7 separate regions of the Homo sapiens genome follow, and all the other regions are linked to region 6. The links are contacts of gene promoters, found by promoter capture Hi-C in blood cells and fetal thymus (Javierre and others, 2016). All regions are on one chromosome and are shown on one strand. The core of a region is centred on a gene start or on the middle of the fragment in contact, and the rest is flanking DNA. Distances in the headings are between cores, read along the strand shown. Region 1 overlaps CETN2 (centrin 2). Region 2 has its middle 28 kb from the start of PNMA3. Region 3 overlaps ZNF185 (zinc finger protein 185 with LIM domain). Region 4 has its middle 6.2 kb from the start of PNMA5. Region 5 holds the start of DUSP9 (dual specificity phosphatase 9). Region 6 holds the start of ZNF275 (zinc finger protein 275). Region 7 has its middle 13 kb from the start of PNMA5.

Evidence for each region. The method cuts DNA at HindIII sites, captures the fragments that hold promoters and counts their contacts. A CHiCAGO score of 5 or more calls a contact.
Region 1: a fragment that was not itself captured here is called in contact with the fragment with the promoter of ZNF275 in region 6 in 1 of 17 cell types (monocytes); the score reaches 7.0 in monocytes.
Region 2: a contact is called between a fragment that was not itself captured here and the fragment with the promoter of ZNF275 in region 6, in 1 of 17 cell types (total CD4 T cells). The highest score is 5.2, in total CD4 T cells.
Region 3: a contact is called between a fragment that was not itself captured here and the fragment with the promoter of ZNF275 in region 6, in 4 of 17 cell types (M0 macrophages, activated CD4 T cells, total CD4 T cells and 1 more). The highest score is 7.6, in M0 macrophages.
Region 4: a fragment that was not itself captured here is called in contact with the fragment with the promoter of ZNF275 in region 6 in 7 of 17 cell types (total CD4 T cells, M2 macrophages, M0 macrophages and 4 more); the score reaches 8.6 in total CD4 T cells.
Region 5: a contact is called between the fragment with the promoter of DUSP9 here and the fragment with the promoter of ZNF275 in region 6, in 2 of 17 cell types (neutrophils and activated CD4 T cells). The highest score is 7.9, in neutrophils.
Region 7: a fragment that was not itself captured here is called in contact with the fragment with the promoter of ZNF275 in region 6 in 1 of 17 cell types (total CD4 T cells); the score reaches 5.8 in total CD4 T cells.

What each region holds. Positions count from the first base shown.
Region 1 is chrX:152,826,363-152,830,273 of GRCh38, forward strand. CETN2 (centrin 2) reads right to left here. Exons shown (of 5, transcript NM_004344.3): 2 at 3,240-3,398; 3 at 2,787-2,915; 4 at 2,175-2,312; 5 at 632-1,568. The coding sequence ends at 1,479. Among named protein-coding and RNA genes, the nearest start is that of CETN2, 2.4 kb to the right of the region's middle. The HindIII fragment of the contact is 1,056 bases long and covers 1,221-2,276 here.
Region 2 is chrX:153,026,770-153,030,336 of GRCh38, forward strand. It overlaps the pseudogene LOC112268308. Among named protein-coding and RNA genes, the nearest start is that of PNMA3, 28 kb to the right of the region's middle. The HindIII fragment of the contact is 1,319 bases long and covers 922-2,240 here.
Region 3 is chrX:152,928,587-152,931,985 of GRCh38, forward strand. ZNF185 (zinc finger protein 185 with LIM domain) reads left to right here. Exons shown (of 25, transcript NM_001395254.1): 13 at 1-75; 14 at 3,086-3,190. LOC105373372 (a long non-coding RNA gene) reads right to left here. Exons shown (of 3, transcript XR_007068369.1): 2 at 2,389-3,364; 3 at 1,669-2,300. Among named protein-coding and RNA genes, the nearest start is that of ZNF185, 32 kb to the left of the region's middle. The HindIII fragment of the contact is 4,438 bases long and covers 1-3,399 here.
Region 4 is chrX:152,998,442-153,002,289 of GRCh38, forward strand. No RefSeq gene overlaps it. Among named protein-coding and RNA genes, the nearest start is that of PNMA5, 6.2 kb to the left of the region's middle. The HindIII fragment of the contact is 1,075 bases long and covers 1,007-2,081 here.
Region 5 is chrX:153,645,158-153,648,775 of GRCh38, forward strand. It overlaps DUSP9 (dual specificity phosphatase 9), which reads left to right and starts at 2,046. Exons shown (of 4, transcript NM_001318503.2): 1 at 2,046-2,268; 2 at 2,762-3,169. The coding sequence starts at 2,797. The HindIII fragment of the contact is 18,543 bases long and covers 1-3,618 here.
Region 6 is chrX:153,332,477-153,336,366 of GRCh38, forward strand. ZNF275 (zinc finger protein 275) reads left to right here and starts at 1,677. Exons shown (of 4, transcript NM_001367757.1): 1 at 1,677-1,809. MIR12129 (microRNA 12129) reads left to right here and starts at 2,986; the gene lies at 2,986-3,061. RefSeq lists silencers at 1,471-1,840, 1,931-2,010. The HindIII fragment of the contact is 4,020 bases long and covers 1-3,609 here.
Region 7 is chrX:152,979,114-152,982,632 of GRCh38, forward strand. No RefSeq gene overlaps it. Among named protein-coding and RNA genes, the nearest start is that of PNMA5, 13 kb to the right of the region's middle. The HindIII fragment of the contact is 5,734 bases long and covers 1-3,519 here.

The DNA of each region.
Region 1 (3,911 bases), core at 499-2,998, 510 kb before region 6:
CAGGGTTTGGGCTAGTCTGGGCTCTTCCCCCAAGTTTTTCTTAAGGAGCAGTCCCTCGGCATGAGACTCATCTGGGGGATATGGTAAACTTCATATTCCTGGGCCCCCAAGTCCTACAGGATGTCAGGGTCCAGAGGCATGAGACCGAGGGCCAGGCTTCTGGCCTCTGTAACGTGCTCCCCGGGTAGGGTTACCAGTGGCAATACAGGATGCTTAGGTAAATTTGCATTTAAGATCAACAATGAATAAACAAAAAATACAAATGGGATATAGTCATACTAAAAAAAAGGCATCATTGATCTGAAATGCAAATTTACCTCAACTTTCTTTTTATTAGCTGAATCAGGCAACCCTATCCCCAGAGGACTAGCCTACCCCCAGAAGTTTGAAAATCTGTTTTCTCCCTCTCCATGTGAACAAACGAGCATTCCATCATTGTTCATTTTCTATTCTCCCTCACCCCTTCTGCCTCCCCACTCTCACCCTGGAGCAGAGACTTTAATGTCATCTACCAGGATTTCTCACACAGGGAATCCCGGGCAAGGCCAGGAAGATGGTTGGATGGGGTCACTCAGCCCAACCCACCTCCAAGAGTCGATGAGATACCATAAGCAAATAAATTCACGAGAGGTTGGCTGAATCCATCCTAGTGTTGCGTTAGCCTGGCTCTCCCCATTTTATTCAAGCACAAATTACTAACAAGACTCTTTTCCAGTCTTAGCTTTGCCAAAACTATTTTTAGAGCATCATTTAGGCTTAGGTGATATAAAAATTCTGCTAGTTTTACAAACCAGCAGCCTTCCAAGGCAAAAAGCAATTCATGCCAGGAAAGTAGCAAAGGATTATTCATTTTCTGTCCATAGGCTGGTAAGGAGTTTTGTATCTAATAGGCTGCCTTCAACACAATAATTGAGAAGAGGAACTCATAAGCAAAGCTAAAGAACTCATCCTTAGAGAATACAAGTTCAAACTGAGAAAGGTTTTACTTTTAAGACAAAACAAATAGCATTAACACACATCCAAATGCCAGTGCAGGAGTTCACTGGGTTTATAAAAGAGAAAACTAAACTCAAGTGTCAAATAAAAACTGGAGCCGTCAAGAATGACTGCTTGTGGCAACACAGGTGTAACATGTGCTTGTCTAAAGTCGTTCTGTGTTTGTGGATATGTGGAAATGCATGACGAGGGAAACGATGCAAGGCAAAATGGCAGGTGCTCAAAGCTTTAAGATCCTTTTCTTCACGCTTGTGTGCTCTTGTTTTGCTTTTGAGAATTAGGGTAATTCGCAGGTCATTTTACAAAGAACTGTAATATCAAAGAACACTTCCAAACGGCTAAAATAGGCTCAAGGTCACTATTAAAGTGATAAAGGGAGGTCCGTGGGGGAAAAGTTTGTGTTCTCAAAAGCCAGATTTCACACCATGGCAGGCACTAAATCTAGTTACATGTGCTTGCAGTAGAAAAAGAAGACACTGATCTTAATAGAGGCTGGTCTTTTTCATGATGCGCAGGAACTCTTGCTCACTGACCTCTCCATCTCCATCTCGATCAGCTTCATCAATCATTTCCTATATGACAGTAAAGATTCAGGTTAATTTATAAACTAATGCCAAAAGGTGACTAAGTAATAGACTTTTTTTTTTTTAGAGATGGGGTCTCTATGCTGCCCACACTGGTCTCAAATTCCTGGCCACAAGAGATCCTCCTGCCTCAGCCTCCCAAAGTACTGGGATTATATGCATGATCCACTGTGCCTGGCAAGCAATAGACTTTTAATCTATGTGAATAGATAATTTGTATCTATGTGAATAGATCATTGTAGTCCACCCAATGCCAGTATGCTACTCCTGATAATAGCTTGGTTTCTGAAAAGTTATTTGAAAACCAACTCATACTTTGTCAAACATATCACCTGGGAGGGACCTTGAAGATTGCCTTGACTAGAGGGATTCCTGGAACCTAAAATAGTAAGCAAAATTGTGCATATGTGCATTTTTCTGGAAGCAGGGTTCATAGGTTTGTCTGACTATTAAAGGAGAATTAAGTTGTCTGCAGAGGGACAAAGTACACTGGCTTTTCTTCAAAGAGGTGCTCACACTAGGGAAAATGTAATGGAAAAGTCACAGAGGGCTCAAAGGTGGGAATTTTAAGTTCCAGTGTGATGCATTACAAACCTGCAGCTCCTCATCAGTCAGGTTCTCACCCAACTCCTTGGCCACGCGTTTCAGATTTTTGAACGAAATCTTCCCAGTTTCATCATCATCAAAGAGCTTGAAAGCTTTCAGGATTTCTTCTTTAGTATCTTTCTCAGACTTAACAAGTAGAACATAAAACACATGAGTAGGGGGACACCACGGTTGGTTACTACTGTCCTGTAGCCCTGCCACTGCCTGGTCAGGTCACCCTTTCCTTTTTAACAATGTAACTCGAGTCTAGACTTGCGGCAAGTGTCAGGAAGCCCATTTTGGCCTCAAAGAAACACCAGGCAAGCCAGGCACTCCATCCAAGGTGACGTTTGCTACCTATCGCTATATCTCTCCCTATCCCATATCTATTTCCTAACTGATTTGGAATTCTGTGGGAAGAGGTATCTGCTTGGAAGTCTTGAGAAAGAAGCACAAGGGCTTGTTTTGGGAGCCCAAAGTAACATGATGGGAGGGCAGGCCTCCTGATGCAGTTGCTACCTGGACTGCTCTGTGGTCACATGACTGTTTTAACAGGAAGACGCCATGGACCTCTGCAGATGACTGGGGCTCCATACCATGATAATTGTCTTAGCTACTTACCATTTTCTGGGTCATCACAGTTAAAAAGTCACCAAAGTTCATTTTTCCTGTCCCTTCCTTATCAATTTCACTTATCATTTTCTTAATTTCTTCTTTCTTGGGTTCAAAGCCCAGGGCCCTCATTGCCACCTATAAAGAAAACAGGATCGTCTCAATAAGCACATCTAAAGTAGCAGGAGCAAAAATAACAGTGTTGAGAGCATTAAGCCAGCATCTGATGTGGTCATGTTAATATGATTGGGGAACACTATGACATTGATCTAATTGATATTTGCAATCAATTTTATTGAATAATACTCAAAGTAAGTAAAGACAGGAAAACAGCACAGTACAACCTCCCCTGTTACTTACTGCAGGGAGAAGAGGGCAAAAGGGGTAGAGAGGTGATAGGGAGATGACAAGGAAGAGGCAGAGGAAAGGAAGGGCAGTACGGCAGGAATGCACAGAGCTTGCCTTCAGTTCTTTAACATCTATGGTGCCAGTTCCATCCGCATCGAAAAGATCAAAAGCTTCCCGGATCTCCTGCTTTTGCTCTTCAGTAAGCTCAGGCTTAGGGCTCATTCTTTTTCGCTGAGAACTTGATGCCATGTTTGCCTTCTTAAAGTTGGAGGCCTTTATATGTTATGCAATACACAAGCACAATAATATATCATACAGTCCATATTTACATAACATAGTTACAGACACCCATATGTATTTTTAAAGTCATTTATATAACCAATTCCAAAGCTTTGCTTAAAAAGAAAGATAACAGGGTTTACTGGCAAGAACAATGAATCTTTCCATGAACTTCTACCCCTCCCTTTTCTTTACTGTTGTTTCTAGAAGCAGGGAGATCACTTGTTCAGTAAGGACACCTCTTACTGAAAATCATCCCAAAAGAGAGCCAGTCAAGAAGATGACTGTGAATAACTAGAGATAATCAGCTCTTCCCGAACGTGGGGATCCTGGTTCTGAAAACAGTCTTACGATGCCCACTCCCAGTACTCCCCTTCCCAGTAAGTACTCCGACTTCCCAATTACTTCTAGATTTGGCCAAATATTAGTAAGTTGTTAAGATGTATATTGTGTCAGTACCGAGTAATAAAACTCAATCCATCTGGCACCTTCGTGCCTTCTCCAAGA
Region 2 (3,567 bases), core at 331-2,830, 310 kb before region 6:
GTGTATATGTGTGTATATGTATATGTATATATGTGTGTATATATATATAAATCTACTACAAGAGTTCACAGGCAAGTCCCTCACCTACACTTTGTCACATGTGGTCTGCTTCTGCCCCTCGTACCCTTACTCTCTTACTCTTCCTGTTGTTCCTATTGGTGGCTGGGGAAGTGACGTGAGGGCAGTGGTGCCTGTGCAGCAGTGCTCAAGGATGCATCAAGGGTTCACTCTCAGGAAACTCCCAAAGCTGCTGGCCAGATGGGTAGCCAGTCCTAGACATGGCAGAGACTGGCTGAGTTTCCCAAATGCCTCTCTTGACCAAGGCCTGCAGAAACAGAAAGTCATATTTTCACATTGGCCAATCCTTGCATTCCTCAGGAAAATGGTTCCAATGTTCCCACTCACATCCTGCTTTTTCTCAGAGCTCAGACCTGGGACCACTGAGCTGGCTGCCACAACCAGCCTCCAATACCCACACCATTCTTGGCCACACCACCCTTTTTCATTCCTGTGCCCTTGTGGTTATTTACTGAAGGCTTACCGTGTGTCTAATAGAAGGTAAAGCTCCATGACTCCCCTGCAAGAAAAATGTTCTTATTGCTCATTTACAGATGAGAAACAGAGATGTTCAGTGGTTTGTGCAAAGCCACCCAGCTGCTAGGTGAAGCCAGCTTTGCCTGCTTCCAAAGGCCGTACACACTCTTTCCAATGCAATGGCTTCCTAGGTGGTGAAGGCTGGCTTTGTAGCCTAAGAACTATGATGAGGCTCTTGAGTCAGGAACAGCTAGCCTCTTCCTGTTGTGGAGATTCCTGCAATGAGGAGGTAGGCCTGTGAATGTAGTGATTTGGGGGACCTAGTCTGGAGTCCTAGTACCTGGCTGTCCACCAACTCCCAGCTTCCAGACGCTGCCCCTAAGCATAAGCTTCCTCTCTGCCAGTTTCCAATCCCCTTTCTCTCTCAACACTTCCACTAGGCCATTTTGATGGTTGGGCCTGTTGCCCCCGGAGGCACATCAAGCCCTTACCGCGCAGGTCCCGATCCCAGGGCAACACGGATGCCTCCCCCTGTTTAGCTATTTGCCTCCCACAGAGACTCTGAGATTTTTCTCCCTCATCTATCTGAGGCTTCTGGGAGAAGTTGGAAGCCCACGTGCCCTTAGTACAGCTGGCCTGAGATATCCCTGCCCTGTGCAGTCCCAGATGGGCTGCTGGGGCGCGATCTTCCACCTTCCCATTCCAGGGCCTCAAGGCGGCCTCCAGAGTGGGCTCCACAGCCTGAAGGTGGCATTTCCCCGTGGGTGGTTGCAGTGTCTGCAGACAGTGAGCAGGCACCAGCGGGACCCCAGAGTGGCTGAGGGCACACTGGGCAGGAGCCAGATCGCTGTCCCCCCAGGCAGTAGGTGCGACAGCGGGTCCTGGTCTGGAGCCTGAGGAGAGGGGAGGAGGGTCTCCTTGCTGCAGGAGTCTGGGTGGGGTGAGCTCCTGGCTGCAGGGCACCTCTGGCTACAGAAGGGGACGATGGGAGAGAGAGGGGCTCTGGCTGTGGGGGAAGGGGACTCCTGGCTGCTGATGTGGGAGGCGTGGGAGGGGGTTGCCAGGTTGCAGGGAGGATGGCATTAGGGAGAGGGCTCCTGGTCAAGTGCTGGGAAAAAGAGGAGGTGGGCACATCCAGCTGCAGGGTTGCACATGATGGTTGGAGGGGCTCCAGCTGTAAGTTTTGTGATCAGGGGCTGTTCACCAGGTGAAAGAGGCGCTTCCTGCTGTGGAGGTGGGGGGTGCAGTGAAGGACTCTGAGCTGCAGCAGTAGGGGTGGGGGAGCATGGGCTGTGACACTGGGCAGGGGAGATGCTTCAGGCCCTGCATTTGGGAGTGGCTGGTCTCTGGCTGTGCGGTGGGGGTGGGCTGACTGGCAGCAACGTCCCTCTCTCCCCTTTGCACTCACAGGCTGCGTCAGAGACTGCAACAGTCAGCACACATTCCTGTCTGATCAGGCTCCCTCCCTCAAGTCCTCTGCGATGGCTCTGGCGATGCTTCGGGACTGGTGCAGGAGGATGGGTGTGAACGCAGAGCGCTCTCTGCTCATCCTGGATATCCCTGACGACTGCGAGGAACATGAGTTCCAGGAGGCCGTGCGGGCTGCCCTGTCGCCCCTGGGCAGGTACCGAGTGCTCATCAAGGTCTTCAGAAAGGAGCTCGGGGCCAGGGCAGCCTTGGTGGAATTCGCTGAGGGTTTAAACCAAAGCTTGATTCCCCGCCAAATAGCAGGCAAAGGGGGACCCTGGAAAGTGATCTCCCTGCCCCAGGCCCTTGATGCTGAGTTTCAGGATATACCCAGTTTCCCTGCATAGCCCCAGGGGCAAGCAGTGGCCAGAGGTGCAGGTGAGGCAGGAGCTGCAGGTGAGGCAGGATCTGTAGGTGAGGCAGGAGGTGTGAATGAGGAAAGATCTGCAGGTGAGGCAGGAGCTGCAGGTGAGGAAGAAGAGGCAGGTGATGGAGGAGCTGCAGGTGCAGCAGGAGCCATAGGTGAAACAGGAGCTGTGGGTAAGGGTGAGGCAGAAGCCACAGGTGAGGGAGGATCTGCAAGTGAGGCAGAAGGTGCAGGTGAGGGAGGAGCTGGAGATGAGTTGAGAGTTGCAGAAGAGGCAAGAGAGTCAGATGAGGGAGCCGCAGGTGATACAGGACCTGCAGGTGAGGCAGGAGCTGTGGGTGAGGCAGGAGCTGTGGGTGAGGCAGGAGCTGCGGGTGAGGCAGGAGCTGTGGGTGAGGCAAGAGGGACAAATGTAACAAGAGCCTGGGTCCAGCCTCGGCGCTGCACCCTGCAGGCTGTGCTGGAAAACAGGGCCTACCAGGAACTGAGACCCTTTTCAGGGAGGGAGCAGCCAGGCTGCGAGGAAGAGTCCTTTGAGAGCTGGATGGAGCACGCCAAGGATATGCTGCAGCTGTGGTACCATGCGTCGGAAAGGGAGAGGAAGAGATGGCTGCTGGAGAGCTTGGGTGGCCCAGCCCTGGACGTTGTGAGCGGCCTCCTAGAGGAAGATCCCAACTTGGCGGCACTGGACTGCCAGGCGCTGCTGGACTGCTGGGCAGCGGTGCTGGGGCAGGCGTTTGGAAACCGGGACCCTCGAATGACTTCCAGGCTGAAGTTCCTGACCTGAACGCAGGGGCCCTTTGCCTTCCTGGTATGCCTGGAAGGCCTGCTGCAGATGGCCCTGGAGAAGGGGGCCGTCTGCCCGGCCCTGGCCAACCACCTGTGACTGCGGTAGGTGCAGCCTCAGGCCTGCCCTGGCGAAGCACTCCAGAATACCCTGAGGGGGATGCACTGGAGAGGAGGCCGCCCTACTTCCTGGGGCTGCTTCAGCTCATCCAGGAGATGGAGGCGTGGGCGGCCTCCCCAGTGAGGAGCCAGCATGTTGTGGCCTGGCCAGTGGCCACAGTGGAAAGTGAAGATCCAGTTGCCGCCCAGGCAGCTCCTGCCTGTGGAGATGCTGCTCAGGCCTCCTCAGCCCAGGAAGACGCCAGCCAGGCTGACCCTGGCGTGGAAGATGCTGCTGAGACTGCTCCTGCCAC
Region 3 (3,399 bases), core at 49-2,548, 400 kb before region 6:
GGAAATTGTCCGCCTGCAGATCCTGACACCCAGGGCAGGACTCCGCCTGGTGGCCCCAGACGTGGAAGGCATGAGGTATGGGGGTCCTGCTGCTGTCCTGGCTCCCTGGACACCATTCTAGAGATGGAAGCAGCAGCCTCAGGTGGCAAATGATGAGGCCTAGGGCCGGCTCTGCCACTGTAGGGCCAACAGGTTGATGGGAGGCATGGTCGACCTGGGTTTTCTGCCCCATCTCATTCTTTCACTCAGAAAACCATTATGGAGCAAGCGCTTAGTCTGTGTAAGGGCACAGGCCCGACCCTGGGACACAGTAGTGAACAGGACCCCCTGGCTGGAATTGCCATCTGCCTGGTGGGGGAGGCAGACGCCGACATGAGCATGAATGAGGTCAGCCAGAGATGCTGTGTGCCAGGAGCCCCTGGGAAGTGACAGCTCAACCCTGCCAATTGCTGAAGATGGGACCAGTCAGCCGTGCTGGGGATGTTGGTGGGGGTGGGAGGAGGATTGGGTCTAAGGAGCCCGTGAAGGCCACTGAGGCCATTGCCCTGCCTGTGTGAGAGGGCCACTGGGAATAGAGTGGGGTCACTGGGTCAGAGTCCACAGCTCTCCATGCCACTAGGCTCTGTGCTGGGGAGGGGTGGGTCAAGGAGGCCACAACCAGCAGGGAGCACGAGGGGCTCAGCCTCTGCCCTGGGGTGGGGGTCAGACAGCCAGGTGACATGCAGGCAGGATTCGGGGGCTGGGGTGGAGGCTAGGAGAGATCCGAGCAGGGAGACTGGGCCCCTACCTTGTGAAGGCCAGGGACTGGGGAGAGAAGCGGGAGTGTACACTGAAGGTCATCCCTTAATCCCTGGGGTGGCAGGAACTTCGAGCAGAGGCCTCTCAACAGTGTGGTGGGTGGGAGTGCTTGGGGAGGGCTTCCTGGAGGAATTGACATCCAAGATGAGTCCTGAGCGATCTCTAGGTCCCTTTACCCTCCTCCTTGGCTCCTCCCACTTTAATTCTGCCCCCAAGGCACCAAGTCCTGTCCACTTTATTTTAGAGATGTTTCCATCCCTATTGCTCTGCCCCTGGCCCAGGCCTCCACTGCTACTCACCCAGTTGTCTGCGACCGTTTCCTACTGTCCCATCCCTGGACTCCCTTCCACATCTACCTGGGTGATGTTTCCAAAGGGCAGAAGTAGTTATGCCAGCCCCCTGCAGAAAGCCCTGCAAAGCCCCTCCCACTATGCTCTGCAGCCTGAACTCAGTACCTGGCCCCACCTGCAGGCTCCTCCCTCCCTGGGCCTTTCTCTGTGCAGGCTGGAGGCTCTGCCTGAGATGCCCTTTCCCCTCTTCATCTTTCTGTTCCACCTCAAATGTCCTGTCTTCTGGGTCATGTCCTTCTCCTGAGTTTCTTCCCCAGGCAGCATCTGAGGGCTTGTCGATTCTGCATGGCAGCATCCATTCTGCATGGATGTAGATACAATCACTATGCCCATTTTACAGATTAAGAAACTGAGACCCTGAATGGTTAAGTAACTTGCTCAAGGTCACATGGTCCAGAGCAGGCAGATCCGCTCAGCCTGCCCTACTCCCACCTTCCACCTTCTGCACCATAGCTCATTGTACTAGTTGGGGCAGGGAGCAGGGGGACAGAGAGGGGTGATGGAAAGACTTGGCATTTGCTGAGTGAACTCATTTGACGAGTTTATTCGTAGGCATTGAAGTCAAAATTTCCAGGAGGGAGGTATTTTAAGGTTTGTGATTGAGGTTTGAGAGAGTGATTAGGGCTCAAGAGATTTCCACGTTATATGCAGACAGAATAGAGCTGAAATCATGAGCGTAAACTAGCTTTACATGGGGCTCATGGTGAGCCAATGGAAGCTGGGCACCGACCTCAGTATGCAGGTGGCAGCCACCTGGCCAGCCCTCCTGGGGACAGCTGGGCGAGGGCAGTCTCTTCTCGCCATGTTGAGAGTGGGCCTCCTGAGGGCCAGTTGGGAGTTAGTGGGTGTGCAGGCCAGTATAAAGGAGAGGCAGGAACAAGTGGAGATCCCTGCTTCAAGGGTGGCAGTTGACACCTTGGGAGGGGAGGAGACAGCCCAGCAAGTGGTGGAGCACGCCAAAGGGAGGAGAAAAAGGCGGAGACCAGGAAGGTGTGTGGCCAGGGAGGTAGGCAGGTGGTGTTGACAGGATCAAGGGAGGAGGGGTGGTGAGAAGGCTGGAGTGGCCCACTGGGTCAGCAGTACTGAATGGTGGTTTGAAATAATGATGGGACTGTCTCTCCTGGATTTGACAACATGGGGCTCCCTGAGGACCTGAAGGAGAACAGAAGGGGGCTTAAATTAGGAGATTAGGATCAGGGATATAGTCCAGAACTCAAATCCCAGCTACTCCTCTTATTACCTGTGAAATTTGGGGCAAATCACAGGGGCTTTGTGTGCCTCCGTTTGCTCATCTGAAAGATGGGCATGGGTGATAACAGTGCCCATATCCTGGGGTTGATTTGCAGAGTTAATGCATATAAAGTCACGAGAACAGGCTCAAATGCTCAATCAACAGTAGCTATTGCCAGGCACAGTGGCTCACACCTGTAATCCCAGCACAGTAGCTATAAAACAACAACAACAAAAAACAAAAAACAGTAGCTATTAGTAATGAAGTTTTGATAATTGGCCAATCTGTCAATCAGCAGGGTTTGTTTGTTTTTGGTTCTGTTTTTTAAGACAGCATCTTGCTGTGTGTGCCCAGGCTCAAGTGCAGTGGTGCCATCACAGCTCGCTGCAGCCTCAACCTTCCAGGTTCAACCTCCCAAGTAGCTGGGACCACAGGCACACACCACCACTCCTGACTAACTTTCAAAAATATTTTTGTGGAGATGGAGTCTAGCTGTGTTTCTCAGGCTGGTCTTGAACTCCTGGCTCAAGTGATCCTCTTGCCTCGGCCTCTCAAAATGCTGGGTTATAGGCGTGAGCCACTGCACCCGGCCCAGTAGCAGGTTTTAAGCTCCGTGGAGACAGCTGGCGTTTGAGGATGAGGTAACAGCCCACACCTGAGTGTGAATGGCTGCTGCATGGTTAACTTCCATTTCTTTCCTCCATAGGTCTTCCCCAGGCAACAAAGACAAGGAGGCCCCCTGCTCCAGAGAGCTCCAGAGGGACTTGGCTGGTGAGGAGGCTTTCAGGGCCCCCAACACAGATGCTGCAAGGTAACTCAGTGCAGGAAGCAGACACTTCATTCCCAGAACACGGAGCCCACATACACCCAGCTGAAGGACTTCCATGGCCTCCGGTGCAATGTCAATGGATGCAGCTGGGGCCAGGAAGGTCCTGTTCCCACTGTTCCCCCAGTACCTGGGGTACTGCAGGTCTTTAATGAACATCTGTTGAAAGAAAGAAAGAATGAATGAATGAGGCC
Region 4 (3,848 bases), core at 294-2,793, 330 kb before region 6:
ATATATAGTATATTCATATTATATATAATATATATAATAAAGAAAATTATATATAATATATATAATATATAATACATATACTATATAATATATATAAAATATATATATAATATATATAAATAATATATATATAAATATATGTTATATATATTATATATAAAATATATATAAATATATATTATATATATTATATATAATATATATATAATATATAATATATATAATATATAAAATATATATTATATAATATATATTATATTATATATTAAATATTATATAAAAATATATATAAGACATTTATATATAATATATTATATATATTATATATAATATATATAATATAGATATATAAAAAACATTTTCTTTATCCATTCATCTGTCAGTGGTCACTTAGGTTGTTTTCTTATCTTAGCTATTGTGAATAATGCTGAAATGGACAAGAGAGTCCAGATACCACTTAGAGATAGTGATTTTATTTGCTTAGGATATCTATCCATAGTGGAATTGCTGGATCATACAGTAGCATACATGGACAATTAATTTTCAACAAAGCTGCCAAGAATACACAATGAGGAAAGTGAGATGGAGCAGGGACCCCGTCTCAGGGGTCTGCAGGCCCCCTTAAGCATATAAATAAAGGAAAATGTTGAGTTCTTTCAGGGGCAATGCCAGGCACCTAGCTAGCCCTGAGAAGTAAATAAGCAAGTTGATAAGCAAGAAGGTAATAGCTTAAAACAACAGCCAAGGAAGCTACAATCACAGGATGTTTTCTTTCCCTATAGAAACTAAAGATAACATGTTAACATATATCTCTGAGTTGTTTTTCAGAAACTTGGATCCCCACCAAACTGATCAGCTGGCATGCAGACCCCAGAAAAGGGGGAGCTGAGGACTGAACTCTGACCACCACTCTTTGTTCCAAACTTCTTCATGAGGGGCCTGGAGGAAATCACATCCATCTGTCAGAGCTAATATTCTTTTCTGCTGACCCAAAAATTTTAAACAAAGCTTCTCTTGCTTAACCAACTGCAAACCAAAAGACCTTTGAACCTACTTATGGCCTGTAAGCCCTCACTTCAAGATATCCCACCCTTTTAGGCCAAAACCAATGGGTAACCTCTGTGTAATGATTTATGAATTAGCCTGTAACTTCTGCTTTCCTGAAATTTACTCCTACCTTTAAAAGCCCTTACCTGCAAGCCATCACGGAGCTCTGGATTTGAGCGTTAGCTGCCTGATCCTCCTTGCTTAGTGCCCTGCAAATAAATGTCTTCCTTTCCACCACTGCAAACCTCAGTGTGGATATCTGATCTTACTGTGATGGGCAAGACAACTCCAGTTCAGTTCAATAACACTTGGCCACAACTCAAAAGCCCTGAGTGGGTGTCTTGCCAATAGCATATCAGCCCCTGGCTATGAGCACCCTTGGACCCTGTCCAGTAGCTGCCTGAATTATTTTATTCAGGGATGGATCTGTGTATTTGGCTGCCACCAAGGCATCACTGGCTTGTGTTGCTTTTACTTTTGCAGCATTAGAAATGAGACACTTGGCTGGGAAGACATTTTTTGGCAGGTGACAAATTTGTGGGCAATAGCCCCAAGGTATATTTTCTTCAAACACTACGTTCTGCATTGGCAGGACATCTGGCCTTGCTTTGGCAATTTACGGGACTCTGCTTCATCATAGTGTGTTTAGTAGGGAATACTCCATAAGCAACTGAAGGGATGGAGACTTTGAGAAATCACATTTTGATTTTGATTTGCTTGCTTGACAATCTGCCTAAAGCCCAGCTGAGGCATTAAGGGTTTTTCACCTAAGGTCTTGTCATCTAAAATGGAAACTACAAATTATGTTCCTCCTTGTAGCCCATTATGGTGCATTCTGCAGAATCGGGCCATTTTTAGCTTTGAGCCCATGAAAAAGAAAAATGTTTTTAATGTTGAAATTCTGCCTGACCACGGTATCCCCTAGGATCCAGGGAATGGTAGCCAGAATTTAGATATCTAAATTACATTATAATTTTTCAATTAGAATTGTTTTGTGAACAAGAAGGTAAATGGGATGAAATTCTGAATGTACAAGCTTTTATGCTTTTGTACCAAAGTGAGCTAATTCAAAGAAGGTATAATTTGCATAGAATCATGGTTGAAAGAAATGCCTCTAAGGTGAAAGAGGTAAAGGTTTTACCCGGTTCTCAAAAATCAGAAGATGACTTACTACTTCAACAAATGAATGCACCAATCCTATCTCTCCACCTTATGGGGGGCGAGATATGGAAGCCAGAGCAATGGCCCCGCCCCCCTGCTCAGGCAGGAATGGGAGCCCCTATTACCCTGGCTGGACTGGGGAATAATAGTGACGTAAACAGGCCAGGAGTGCTCTCTCCTTCACACACCTGACAGGGCACTCAATATCGTCAGGGAGCCACTCTGGTTGAGGTAGGGCAATTCCATTAGGCAAGTACCCATTGGCAGAATCAATGCCCAGGGTCAGCCAGCGGGACCTGTGTGGGTACACGTGCCATTCTCAGTCTCTGACCTATACCATTGGAAGGATAACATGCTTACCTACTGGGGTGACCCAAGGAGGATGGAAAATGTGTTCTCCATTTACACTACTCATAATCCTAACTGGGAGAATGTGCAATATTTACAAAATGCACTACTTACCTCCAAAGAGTGGAGAATAGTTTTAGAAAAAGCTAGAGAAGAAGCTGACCAGTAACATACTGAGACTGCCAGCAATCTGGTCTGGGCAGCTACTGCTGAGGCTATAGCCTAACACAAGCAGTCTTAGCTCCTCCCAGCCTCCCATTGGCCCAAGTGTCTGGGCTTTAAGATGTTCTCAATAATATTGGTGGTGTGTTTTCCTGCTCCGTGGTCAAAAAGGGCATCTTGGAGCTCACATGCTTGTTCTGGTGGCACCTCAATGTCCAATTTTCCCAGAGCAAAGGTTACTGTGGCAATTAACTTAGTTAACACGTCCTGTCCCAACGAAGGGACTGGGCATTCTGGCATGTGCAAGATCCTGATAGGATCCAAATCATGAGAGTCAAGCTCATTGCAAGCATTAAAGAGATTGAATTTTAGCAGTCCTGAGGAAAGGGGTCTCAAAGTAGTGTAGCTTTAATAAATTTCAGGAAATGTGACAGAGGCCAAATGAAAACTCATCTGAAAGTTTTTGGAGATAATTTTTGAAGCCTCCTGGCAATGTCAACTGAGATAGATCCTGAGGCCCCTGAGAACCTCAGATTAATTAACATAACTTTTATTAGTCAAAGCACTCCTGGCATTCAGAAAAAGCTATAAAAATTAGAAAGTGTTTTTGGAATGTCTATCTCTTAACTGTATAGATTGCTTTTAAGGTGTTCAAAAACTGAGATCAAGCATTGGATCATAAAGAGCAACAGAGGATGGAAAAACAGGCATCTTTGTTGGTTGCTGCTCTGTTCACAGCACTTGAAGTAAAGAAGCCCAATGAGAAGGTAGACACCCCTGGAAACAAGAAAGGCCTCCAGAAAGGCGATCCATAGATGGGGCCCAAGCATTGTGCATATTGTAAACAAGAGGACCATTGGAAAAGGACTTCCTGAGTTTAAAAAGGCAATCCCAGGGGAAAGAAGAAAAGGCTTTACTTTTGTCAGAGGTATCCAAGAGAGTGATGGGGTCTCAGGGGGTACAATAGGTGGATGAGGCTGCATCCCCATCTCCTGCCTGGAACCCTGGGTAACTCTTTGGTGGGAAAAAGACAAGTTGATTTCTTGATTGATATTGGAGCCACGTACTCCTTCCTTGACATGGTTTGGCTCTGTGTCCCCACCTAAATCTCATCTTGTAGCTCCCATATT
Region 5 (3,618 bases), core at 796-3,295, 310 kb after region 6:
AACACACTGAGAAAGGGGGAAAGTGACCACACTAGGGAGCACAGAGGAGGGAGACTACTGGCTCCGAGTTGGGAAGGCTGCCTGGAGGAGGGGGCCTGAAGAATGAGCAGAATCTCAGAATCTGGGCAGGGGGCATAGGAGGGAGGCCTGGGCTGGGGCCCTTGCCCACTGGGTGAGAGAAGGAAGGGCACAGTCCAGCTGCCCAAAGCCCTTGGATGCAGGAATTAGGACTCTTGTTAGACGCAGGGACATGGGGGGTGTGGCCGGAAAGCAGCCCAGTGCCAGGGTCCTGGGAGTCCCCGGCTAGCAGCCCACTGCCCGAAAGGGAGGGAGAGAGGCAAACTGGAAGCCCCTTAGAGGTGACCCACCTAGCTTTCCGTCACCTGCCCTCTTACCTAACCATGACCTGAGACATTTTCTCCTCTAACTCCATGGCTCCTGAGAGGAGTCTTTAGACTCGTAGTTTGCTTTGCATTTTCCACTTGTTAGAAAAATGCTTTGTGGTGCCCATCCTCGTGTGCATAACTTTGCTTTCTTTTACTTTAGTTCCTTAGATTCCCAAAAGTGGTCAAAGGGTTGGGATTTTTTCCTAGCTCTTGATATTGCCAGATTAATTTCCAAAGGGGCCGTACCAATATATAACCCTGCAACAGTTGAACAGCACGCTGATTTCACAGCAATCTTGCCAGCACTGCGTGTTCTCAAAAATGAGAACATTTCTAATGCAGTAGGTGGGAAGTGTTACCTCGTTGGTCATTGTTACTTGTTTATTGGAGTGGCTTTCCTTCCACGCCTGAAGTTGAACCTTCCCCCAAATATTTGTTAGGCCACCGCATTCCCTCCTTCCTGCAGTATGCAGTGTTTTCAGGTTCTTTGCCCATTTATCTACAGGGGTCTTAACCTTTTAGTTGGGTATGAGCTTTATCTTATCTGGCGTACATTTTCCTTCAACACTGTTATTTGCTTTTGTTGAGCTTTAAGCAGAGAAGGGACTTTTAGCCAGATCAGCATTGTGGACACCTCCCCCTGACCCTGGTCTCCTGCCTCAGTGCTCACCACACCTGAGACCTTGTCCAGTGCTCTTGCTGCCTGTGGATCTGTCCCGCCTGTTGTGCCCATGGAGGAAAGGATGGAGGCCACCAGCCTTGGTTGAGTGGATGGCATTCTGACGTTGGGCAGGGCTGGGCAGGGCAGGGTGGAGGGCAGGTCGTTGCAGGCCCGGAGGCAGGGAGACTGTTGTGCAAGACGTGACAGTGACCTGGCCTAAAGCTGATGAATTTGAGCCCTCGGCTAGGGCAAGGGACAGGGGAGAGAGGCGTGGATGTGAGAGATATTTAGGTAGAAACTAGTTCTTTCCACTTTGATTAGCCGAAGGGGGGTTAAGGGAAGGAGGCAGAGGGGGGAGCCACGGGTGACTCTTAGGATCAGTAATGTGATAAGAGCAGAGTGCCCCAGTTTAGGGCTGGGAGCTCAGGGTTCCTGGGTGCTTTTGGCCAGTCCTGTGCGAGTGAAGCGGGCTGGTATTGGTAGGTATCCAGGAGCTACCCCTGCCTGCCTAGCCCTGCAGCAGACCTCTGGGCCAAAGCTGCACTAAGTTTCTGGTCCTGCCTCCTCCTCCCCTCCGTGATTTCGGTGGCATCCCAAGTTTGCCCAAGCTGCTAGCTCTGAGCCCATTACAGAGATGGGGCCACTGAGATCCAGGCAGGGGAGAAGATGCTCCAGTATCACCCTGTGAGTTGGGCTGGAGGCAGCTTCTGCGGCAGAGGGGCTGGGCTCTGGTCCTCACCCCTCCCCCTGCCTCCCGAGGCCAGGCTGGCGCCGGCCAGGGGAGCCGCAGCTGGTCCCCTGCTGGGCCCCTGACCTGCCCTTGGCCTCTGCCCCGACCCCGTCCCGCCTCGGTGGAAGCCCCAGCTCAGCCGACTCGCAGGTCCCACCCGACTGCTTCGGCTAGCACCCGTTGGCTCACCGGCCCGCCGGGCCCGCCCCCGGAGCCCCGCCCCGGCCCGCCCCTCGGAGTTGTAACTCCACGTCCGAAGGCAGTTTCCAAGGTGGAAGCTGGGTCCGGCTGCCAGGAAGCGGCCGGTGCGCGGGCTGCGCGGGCTGCGCGGGGCTCGGCTTCCACGTGCGAGCCTGCACCGCCGCCCCGCCCTCTCCTGGCGGCCAGGCCTGGGGACTCTCTGCCGCGGGACGGCGCCTCGCGTTCCGCCGTGGCAGTGGCCGTGGCCAGAACGTCCACGCGCGGTCGTCCACCGCCGGATCTCGCTCCAGGTCTCTTTCCTTTTGTTCTCTCCTAGGGGTAGGGGGAGATGGGGGACCGGGGGCCAGACCACCTCTGAGAGGACTCGCTGAGGCCCAGCACCTCGGCGCCTCCTCTGTTCCCCTGGCCCACCTGGCCCTGGGGGAGATCTAGGCCTCGAACGGCACTCCTCGCACGCACACCCCCAGCCAGAGTCGGAAGCTCGAACTTGGGGAGCGTTCGCGAGAAGACCGAGACAGGAGCAGAAAGGGGGTATGGAGGGAGGCGGCTGCGACCTCAGGGTACCCCAAGATGAGCCTCGAAGGGGCGGTTAGCCGCTCAGCCCTCTTCTCGAGGACCCTTCCCCGGGCCGAGCTGCTGCCTGGGGGGTTTCTTGGGGCGCCTTGTTGGGAGTCCTCATGGTGGGGGACCCTGGGCTCCCGCCTTCAGGACGCGGGGCCGGCTTCAAGTCTGAGCCCCCTCGGCCCTCCGGTAGCTCACACCGCGCCTTCTCTCTCTTCGCAGCGCCCGTGGTCCAGCGTGTAGGGAGCCGATCGCCCATGGAGGGTCTGGGCCGCTCGTGCCTGTGGCTGCGTCGGGAGCTGTCGCCCCCGCGGCCGCGGCTCCTGCTCCTGGACTGCCGCAGCCGCGAGCTGTACGAGTCGGCGCGCATCGGTGGGGCGCTGAGCGTGGCCCTGCCGGCGCTCCTGCTGCGCCGCCTGCGGAGGGGCAGCCTGTCGGTGCGCGCGCTCCTGCCTGGGCCGCCGCTGCAGCCGCCCCCGCCTGCCCCCGTGCTCCTGTACGACCAGGGCGGGGGCCGGCGCCGGCGCGGGGAGGCCGAGGCCGAGGCCGAGGAGTGGGAGGCCGAGTCGGTGCTGGGCACCCTGCTGCAGAAGCTGCGAGAGGAAGGCTACCTGGCCTACTACCTCCAGGGTAGGTGCCGCGGGGCCCTCCTTCCAGGGGGTTCGGGATTCATTTGACCTTAGGCCAGCCCCACTTCTTTTTTTCTAAAGCGAGTTGAGGCCCCCCTCCCCTGATGACCTGCCAGGCTGCTTTGAGAGGAGGGAAGCCTGAGTGTGACCGTGGGGAAGTTCTTCACCCTCGGCAGCCCAGTCTCTGAGCCTGGAAAATGGGGAGAATTAGCCTGACCTGAGCTAGTTCTCAGGATGCTCAAGAACGAATTACAAAGTGCGGGCTCCCCAGGGTCTCGGCAAGGGTATCCCCACCTCCCCAACCTGCTCAGGAATGAGCAAGGGAGGCAGGGGTCAGACAGCACTGGTGCAATCACGGCTCACTGAAGCCTCCTGGGCTCAAGCGATCCTCCTGCCTTAGCCTCCCGAACAGCATATAAAGTGTCAGGTGTCCAGCCCGGGGAAATAGTA
Region 6 (3,890 bases), core at 427-2,926:
TCTCAAACAACTTATAACAGAGCTACCATTTGACCCAGCAATCCCAGTACTGGGTATATACTCAAAGGAAAATAAATCATTCTACCACCAAGACACATGCACCTGTATGGTCATCACAGCACTATTCACAATAGCAAAGACGTGGAATCAACCTAGGTGATCATCAGTGGTGGATTGGATAAAGAAAATGTGGTAGGCATTCACCACAGAATGCTATGCAGCCATAAAAAAAGAATGAAATCATGTCCTTTGCAGCAACATGGATGCAGCTAGAGGCTGTTATCCTAAGTGAATTAATGCAGGAACATAAAACCAAATGCCACACATTCTCATTTATAAGTGGGAGCTAAACATCGGGTACTCGTGCGCATAAAGATGGGAACAACAAACAATGGGAACTACAAGAGGGGTCAGGGAAGGAGGGGTCAAGGGTTTAAAAACTAACTATTGTGTACTATGTTCAGTACTTGGATGACAGGGTCATTCGTACCCCAAACCTCAACATCACACACTATACCCAGGCAACAAACCTGCACATGTACCCCCTAAATCTAAAATGAAAGTTGAAAACATAAAATTTCTCAGGAACTACATGTGTGTGTATATATATATACATACATACACACACACATATATACACACACATTGCACATAATGGGCTAGCTTTCTCTTTTGTCTCTCTCTCTATATATACACACACACATATATATACATATATATATACTGCACATAACATTGGGCAAACTACTTGAACAGACACTTTACAAAGAAAGATATAGAAATGGCCAGTGAGCACATAAAAGCATACTCAACATAATTAGTCATCAGGGAGATGATAATTGAAATAACAATGAGATGCCACTTCCCACCCTTTCAAATGGCTAAAAATAAAGGCTGACAACCTCAAATGTTGATGAGGATGGGAAAGAAAAGGAGCTCGCATACATTTCTGGTGGGAATGTAAATTGCACAACCACTTTGGAATACATTCTGGCAGTTTCTTATAAAACATAAAACTATCCTGTGATGTGGCAATTCATCTCTTAGGTATTTGCCCAAGAAAAATGAAAGCATATGTCCACACAAAGATGTGTACATGAATATTCATAGTAGCTTTATTTATAATCGCCCAAACTGGAAACAGCCCAGATCATAACCTGGTGAATGAACAAACCAACTCTGATATATCCAAACAATAGCATACTACTCAGCGATAGCACATTCAACAACATAGATAAATCTTGAAAACATCACGTTGAATGAAAGAATCCAGACACACAATAGTACATACGATCTGATTCCATTCATACAGAATACTGGCTTTCCAGTCTTCGCCCTCAGTTCCCGACCCTTCACTCCCCCCACCACCATCTTGAAGATGCCCAAGGGGGAGAGGTCCCTTCCATTCCTTCGTTCCTTCCTTCGTCTGCTGGTCGATTTGTTCGCTCGTTCATTCATTCATTCGCACGCTCATTCCACTCCTCCCCACCTCCACCCAAGCGTCCAGCCCGCGCGCGCCGCTCCCCCGCAGGCTGATCAGACTTGCCTGCCCAGTCCGCCCCCGCCCAAACCCCGCCCCCTTCCCGCCACGCCCCCTTCCCGGGCCAATCGGGGACGAGACTGGGGCCGGGGCGGGGCCTCGCTCCCTCAGAACCCCCGGCGGCGCTCACGGCTCCGGAAACGCGCCGCGGGGCTGTTAGCTCGGCTGGGCACGGGCGGCTCCGTGGCGCTTCCTGCCACGCCAGGCCTGCCTGGGCCGCGCCAGCGCCGCTCCACCGAGGGCCGCGCGTCGGCCGCCGCCGGGCCTGGGTGAGTGTGCGGGCCGCGGGAGGATGTGCGGGGGGCGCTGGAGGGGCCGCAGGGCGGAGGTGATCGTGGGGGCGGCAGGAGGACGTGTGGACCTGAGTGAGCGTGCAGGGCCGCGAGAGGATGTGCAGGGGGTGCAGGACTGTGTGCGGGGCTGGAGCGAGTGTGCGGGCCGCAGAAGAGTGCACGGTGGAGGGAGGGGGCGTCTCTGGGCAGTTGGAGAGCTGCTCGGCCTTGGGCGGGCCAGAGCAGGGAACGGGTCCCGGATGACGAGTACGAAGAGGCCCGAAGGCCTTCCCGAGGCGGGCGGGGGGCGGCGATCCCGGGTGGGAATCGCTAAAGTGTAGAGGCCTGCTCTGCTCTTTGGGGGACGCTAGGAGATGGGAACCGCTCAGGGGCGGAGAGAAAGGACCCCTGCCCCTAGCTCCTAGGAGCCCGATCTGGAGGGGGCATTGTAGGGGTGGGGGTTAAAGGACTTTTCCCTGGTCTAGGGGAGGGACTGAGCCGCAGTCTGGGAGCTGGGAGGGTGGGCCAGGTGGGAACAGTTCCCGCTGGGGAGTCCCTCCTTTCCTTTTGAGTGGGTGGGAGTGGGGGGGGGCGGTTAAGCCTCAGCTTGGTGGGGAGAATGGGGGCCGGTAGGTAGCCTAGAGAGAGAGCTGTGGAGAGGCAGGGGAAAGGGGGCGGTGAGCCGAGCTCAAGGCCCTCTGTCTGAACCAGTCTTTTTCTGTCGCCCTACTGGGGGCCGCCATCTCCCACTTCAGTGCCCCCGCCCCCTTAAACTCCTTTGCTGGCTCCTCCAGTCTATATTTGGGTGATTAATTATATATCTTTTCCACACACACCCCCCACTCGCCTGCCGCCCAAAGTCCATGGTCCCTTTCAAACAACCCCCTGCCCCCATTCCTGGCCCACTTCCCAGAGGTCCCACCCTGCCACCTTGTTCCAACTGAAGCCCTCCAGCCAGCCTTGACCTAGCTGGGCATGCGGCCCCCTCCAGTCTCCTTAGTCAATGAAACATTTCCTCTTCAACCTCAGCCCGACATTTTTCCTTTACAAGAGAATTTCAGATGGGATTGCTGGAACAGCACCTCCCCTAGGTACTAATGCTGCCTCAGCCCCTCCCCACCCTCACCTTCCCCCAACCCTGCAACATTGGACCTTCAAGTAGAAGCCACTTGCACAGTATCTGGCCCAGTTCAGTACATCCCCACAAAATGTTACTAGGGGGATGTACTGAACTGGGTCAGACACTGAGTTTTATATATAGAACCCTATTGAGCAGTAATTTGCAGCCTTCTGTCTGTGAGGGACCCCTTGGAAATCTACCAGAACTTGTGAATTCTCTTCTAACCATCAGCACAGACTCAGAGATAGTGGGCTCCCATTTCAGCAGGTTCCTGGGCAGGAATCCTGTCAGTAACAGAGATTCTGAGAGTTGGAGAATCTGGGAACCTCCAGATTCTAGACAGGCCCAGTGTTAAGGAGGTGCAGCTCTGCATCATAATCTCCTGGGGTGCTTGTTGAAAAATGCAGACTCCTTGGTCTCTCCCAAACCTGCGAAACTCCCACATGAGTTCTTAGTGAACTCCACACCAACTTTCTCACCCAGTGATCCAGCCCTTACCCAAACCTGCCTGGGCTCCTTGGATGGCCCTGGGCTCTTTGCAATTTGCATAGCATCCCACCCCACCCCCAATTTCGACCTTTGTATCCAGGCGATGTTACCTAAAGGAAGCTATACTTAAAATTTATTTCGATTTTTAGTAAGATGCCATGAATCTTCTTGGAGAAATGGGAACACAAAGCTTTCCTCAATTAAGTACAACAAACACTACAAAATCCCCTTCTGGTCTACCTTCTGGCTTTTTATAGAAAGGAAATAAGATAGAAACCCAAACAGAAAGAGACAGGTGCCCAGGCAAAGTGAGAGGAAACAGATGCCTTCCCACCCACACATACAGAAAAAGGCACACACAGACACAAATACCCCAAGAGAGACAGACTTTCCTGGTGAGACACCCTCTCTTTAGGCCCTTCAGGATTCTGCTACTTCGAGTAGCAGCCTGTTTGCTGCTTTGGGACGG
Region 7 (3,519 bases), core at 196-2,695, 350 kb before region 6:
ATTGCCATCCACAGCTCCGTAAATGGCAGTCCCATTCTTCAGCTTGCATAGACCAAAACCTACACATCACCTGCTGATCTCCCACTGCACTTCCAGCCCATCAGCCTAGCCTGTTAACTCTCCCTGCCAAACAGATCCAGAGGCAAACCATTTCTCCCCACCTTCACCATAAACATATTGTCCCCTAATCCCCCATGTGGATGATTACAATAACCTAAGCAATCATCTTTCCTTCCTTCCCACCCTGAAGTGTACCCCAGCATGGCTGCAAGAGTGAAGAGTTTCAATCCGATCACATCCCTCTTCTGCTCCATACCTTCCCCAGGCCTCATTTTACTTGGACTAAAAGCCAGAGTCCTCAAGGTGGCTGGCCAAGCAGGTGCTGCTTTATCCAGCCCCCACCACCTTTCCTTCTTACTCATACCATTCCAGGCATTCTCTGGCCTTGAGCTGTGTGCTGGTTGTCTCTTCTGCCTGGAATGCTCATCTCCCAGATGCCCACGTGGCCATCTCCCTTGCGTCCTTCACATCTCTGCTCAGATGCTACCTTCTTCCTGATCACCTTCATGGACCATCCAATTTAAAATTCTGTGCACACCCATAACACTCCTTATACCTGCTTCCTTGCTTTTTCTCTGTAGCACTTATCACAATCTAACATACTACATGTTTTCTTCTTATTTTATTGTTTGTATTTCCTTACTTAAATGAAATCTCCATGAGAGATTTTTGTCCTTTTGCTCCACTGCTGAATTCCCAGTGCCTATAATAGTGCCCTGCACATAGTAGGTGCTCAGTAAATGTTGACTAAATGAATGCATAAAATAGATGATTTCAGACAAGTTCTGTAAAATTATAAAGCAGAACGAGCTAGAGCTCTGGTCTCCACATGCTAAATATGGTCTCCACATCCCACGTTAGGCTACTTGTGTTTAAATAGAAATCAACTAAAATACATTTTTAAAATCCAGTTTCTCAGTCACACTAGCTCCATTTCAAGTGCCTAGTAACCACACATGGCTAGAGACTACCCTGTTGGGCAGCACAGGCCTAGAATATTTCCATTCCCACAAGTTTTCCAGGTAGAGGGGCCAGTAAGGGCAGAGGCCCTGAGATAAGATTAAGAGCCAGGTGTGTTTGAGGGACTAGCCAGCGGGGCTAGAGGGTGGTAAACACACAGCAGAGTGGGGGCCAGATCATGTAGGGTTTGCAGGCCATGGTTAGAAGTTTGAGTTTTAGTCTAAGTGATATGGGAAGCCATCCATGGCTTCTGAGCAAAGAAATGATGTCATTTGATTTCTGATTTTTAAAAATCACTATGAGTTATATTTGGAGAATGGACTATAGAGGAGCAAGAGGAGAGAGAGAGGAGGCTATTGCACTGCAAGTATCAGTGACGGTGGCCTGGACAATGATGGCAGTGGTAGAGATAGAAGTGGATGGAGTTTACATGTATTTGGAAGTAGAACTGCAGTACTTGCTGATAATGGAATATGAATCTATGAGGGAAAGAGAAGAAGACAAACTGAGTCTAGTTTTGGAATCAGAGCAATTGGGTAGATGGTGATGCCAGTATCTTGGGTGAGCTTATGAGCAGTTTGGCACTGATTGAATGGTGTGGCTTGGGAGCCAGAGTTTTGTGTTAGGAAAATTGGTATTGAGATGTTCTGTTGCCCAAGTGGAGATGTGGGTTAGGCACTTTGACATATAAGCCTAGAGCTTAAGAGGGAACTGGGCTTAGAAGCAGCCTGCCAATGATAATGAAAGCATGGACAGGCTGAGATCACCAAGGAAGTGAATGTAGATAGTAAAGAGAAGAGGACCCAGGGCACTGAGTCCTGCGGAGAATCAAGCAGAGAAGGAGGAATCAGAAAACTCTATCAGGAGAGGCCAGTGAAGTAGGAGGAAACCCGAAGCATGTGGTATCCCAGGAGCCAAGGGGAAAAAGTGCTTCATGAGGGAAGAATAGTCACCTGGGTCAAAATCTACTGAGATGTTGGTGTAAATAAGATGAGGACAGAGAATTGACCTTTGGATTCATCAAGATTGAGGTTGTTTGGTCACTTTGTTGAGTCCTTTCAGTAGCAGAATGGGTGAAACCAGTGTTTCAGAGAATCAAGGAGAGCATGGGAGCTGAGAAAGTGTGGGTGGTAGGCATAGACAAGTCTGAGCTTTGCCATGAAGTGGAACAGAAGAACAGAGTGAGAGGTAGAGGGATGTGCTAGTTAATTGTATGTGTCAACTTGACTGGGATAAGGGATGCTCAGATAGCTGGTAAAAACATTATTTCTGGGTGTGTCTGTGAGGGTGTTTCCAGGAGAGATAGCATTTCTATCAGTACAATGAATAAAGATCACCCTCACCAGTGTAGGAAGGCATCATCCAGTTGTTTGAGGGGCCAAATAGAACAAAAAGATGGAGGGAGAGCAAATTCTTTCTCTCGCTCTCTCTCTCTCTCTCGCTCGCTCATTCTCTCTTTCTCTCTCTTCTTGAGCTGAAACATCTATCTTCTCCTGTCCTCAGACATCAGAGCTCCTGGATCTAAGGCTTTCAGACTCCAAGGTGTACACCAATGGGCCGCGCTCCCCACTCCTTTAGCTTTGGATTAGAAGTAACACCATAAACTCCCCTGGATCTCAGGCCTTTGAACTTGGACTGAATTATTCCACCATCTTTCTCTATTCTACAGCTTGCAGATGGCATATCATAGAATTTGTTGGCCTCCATAATCATGTGTGCCAATTCCCAAAATAATATATCTATCAGCTCCTACTGGTTTTGCTTTTCTGGAGTGCTCTGATTAATGCAAATGGGAATTTGGAGGGTTTGTGTCTGTCCGTGTCATAGGTAAACAAGGAGAGCATTCCTGAGTCCTAACTAAGTCTTATGGGGAAGGGGTATTGTGTTAGTTTCCCAGGCCTGTCATAACAAAGTACTACAAAACGAAAGTCTTAAACAACAGAAATTTATTCTCTCACAGTTTTGGATGCCAGGAGTCCAAGACCAAGGTGTCAACAGGCTTGGTTCCTTCTGAGGGCTGTGAGGGAAGAATCTGTTCCAAGCCTCTCTTTTTTGCTTGTAGGTGGCCATCTTCTTCCTGTTTTACTTCACATTATCTTCCTTGTCTGTGTGTCCAAATTTCTTCTTCCTATAGGGACACCTGTCATATTGTAATGGGGCCCACCATAATGCCTTCATTTAACTTTAATTACCTTTTTAAAGACTATCTCTAAACAAGGCCACATTCTGAGGTACTGGAGTTAGGACTTCAGCATATGGATTTTGGGGGGAAATAAAATTCAGCCCACCCATAACAGTGTTTTTGTTGTTTTGTTTGTTTTTTTGTTTGCAATAAGTCATTTTCTGGAACACTGAGGGATGGGGGGATTTTGTAACCATTGCTGTTTTCAAGGATCACAGGGCTTGAGTAACGTTCAACATTGTCAGCAGGCACCTGGGGCCAGGAGCAGGGCAGCCAGAGGTGCTAGAGGCCAAAGTGCTCAGAGGACTGACTACTGT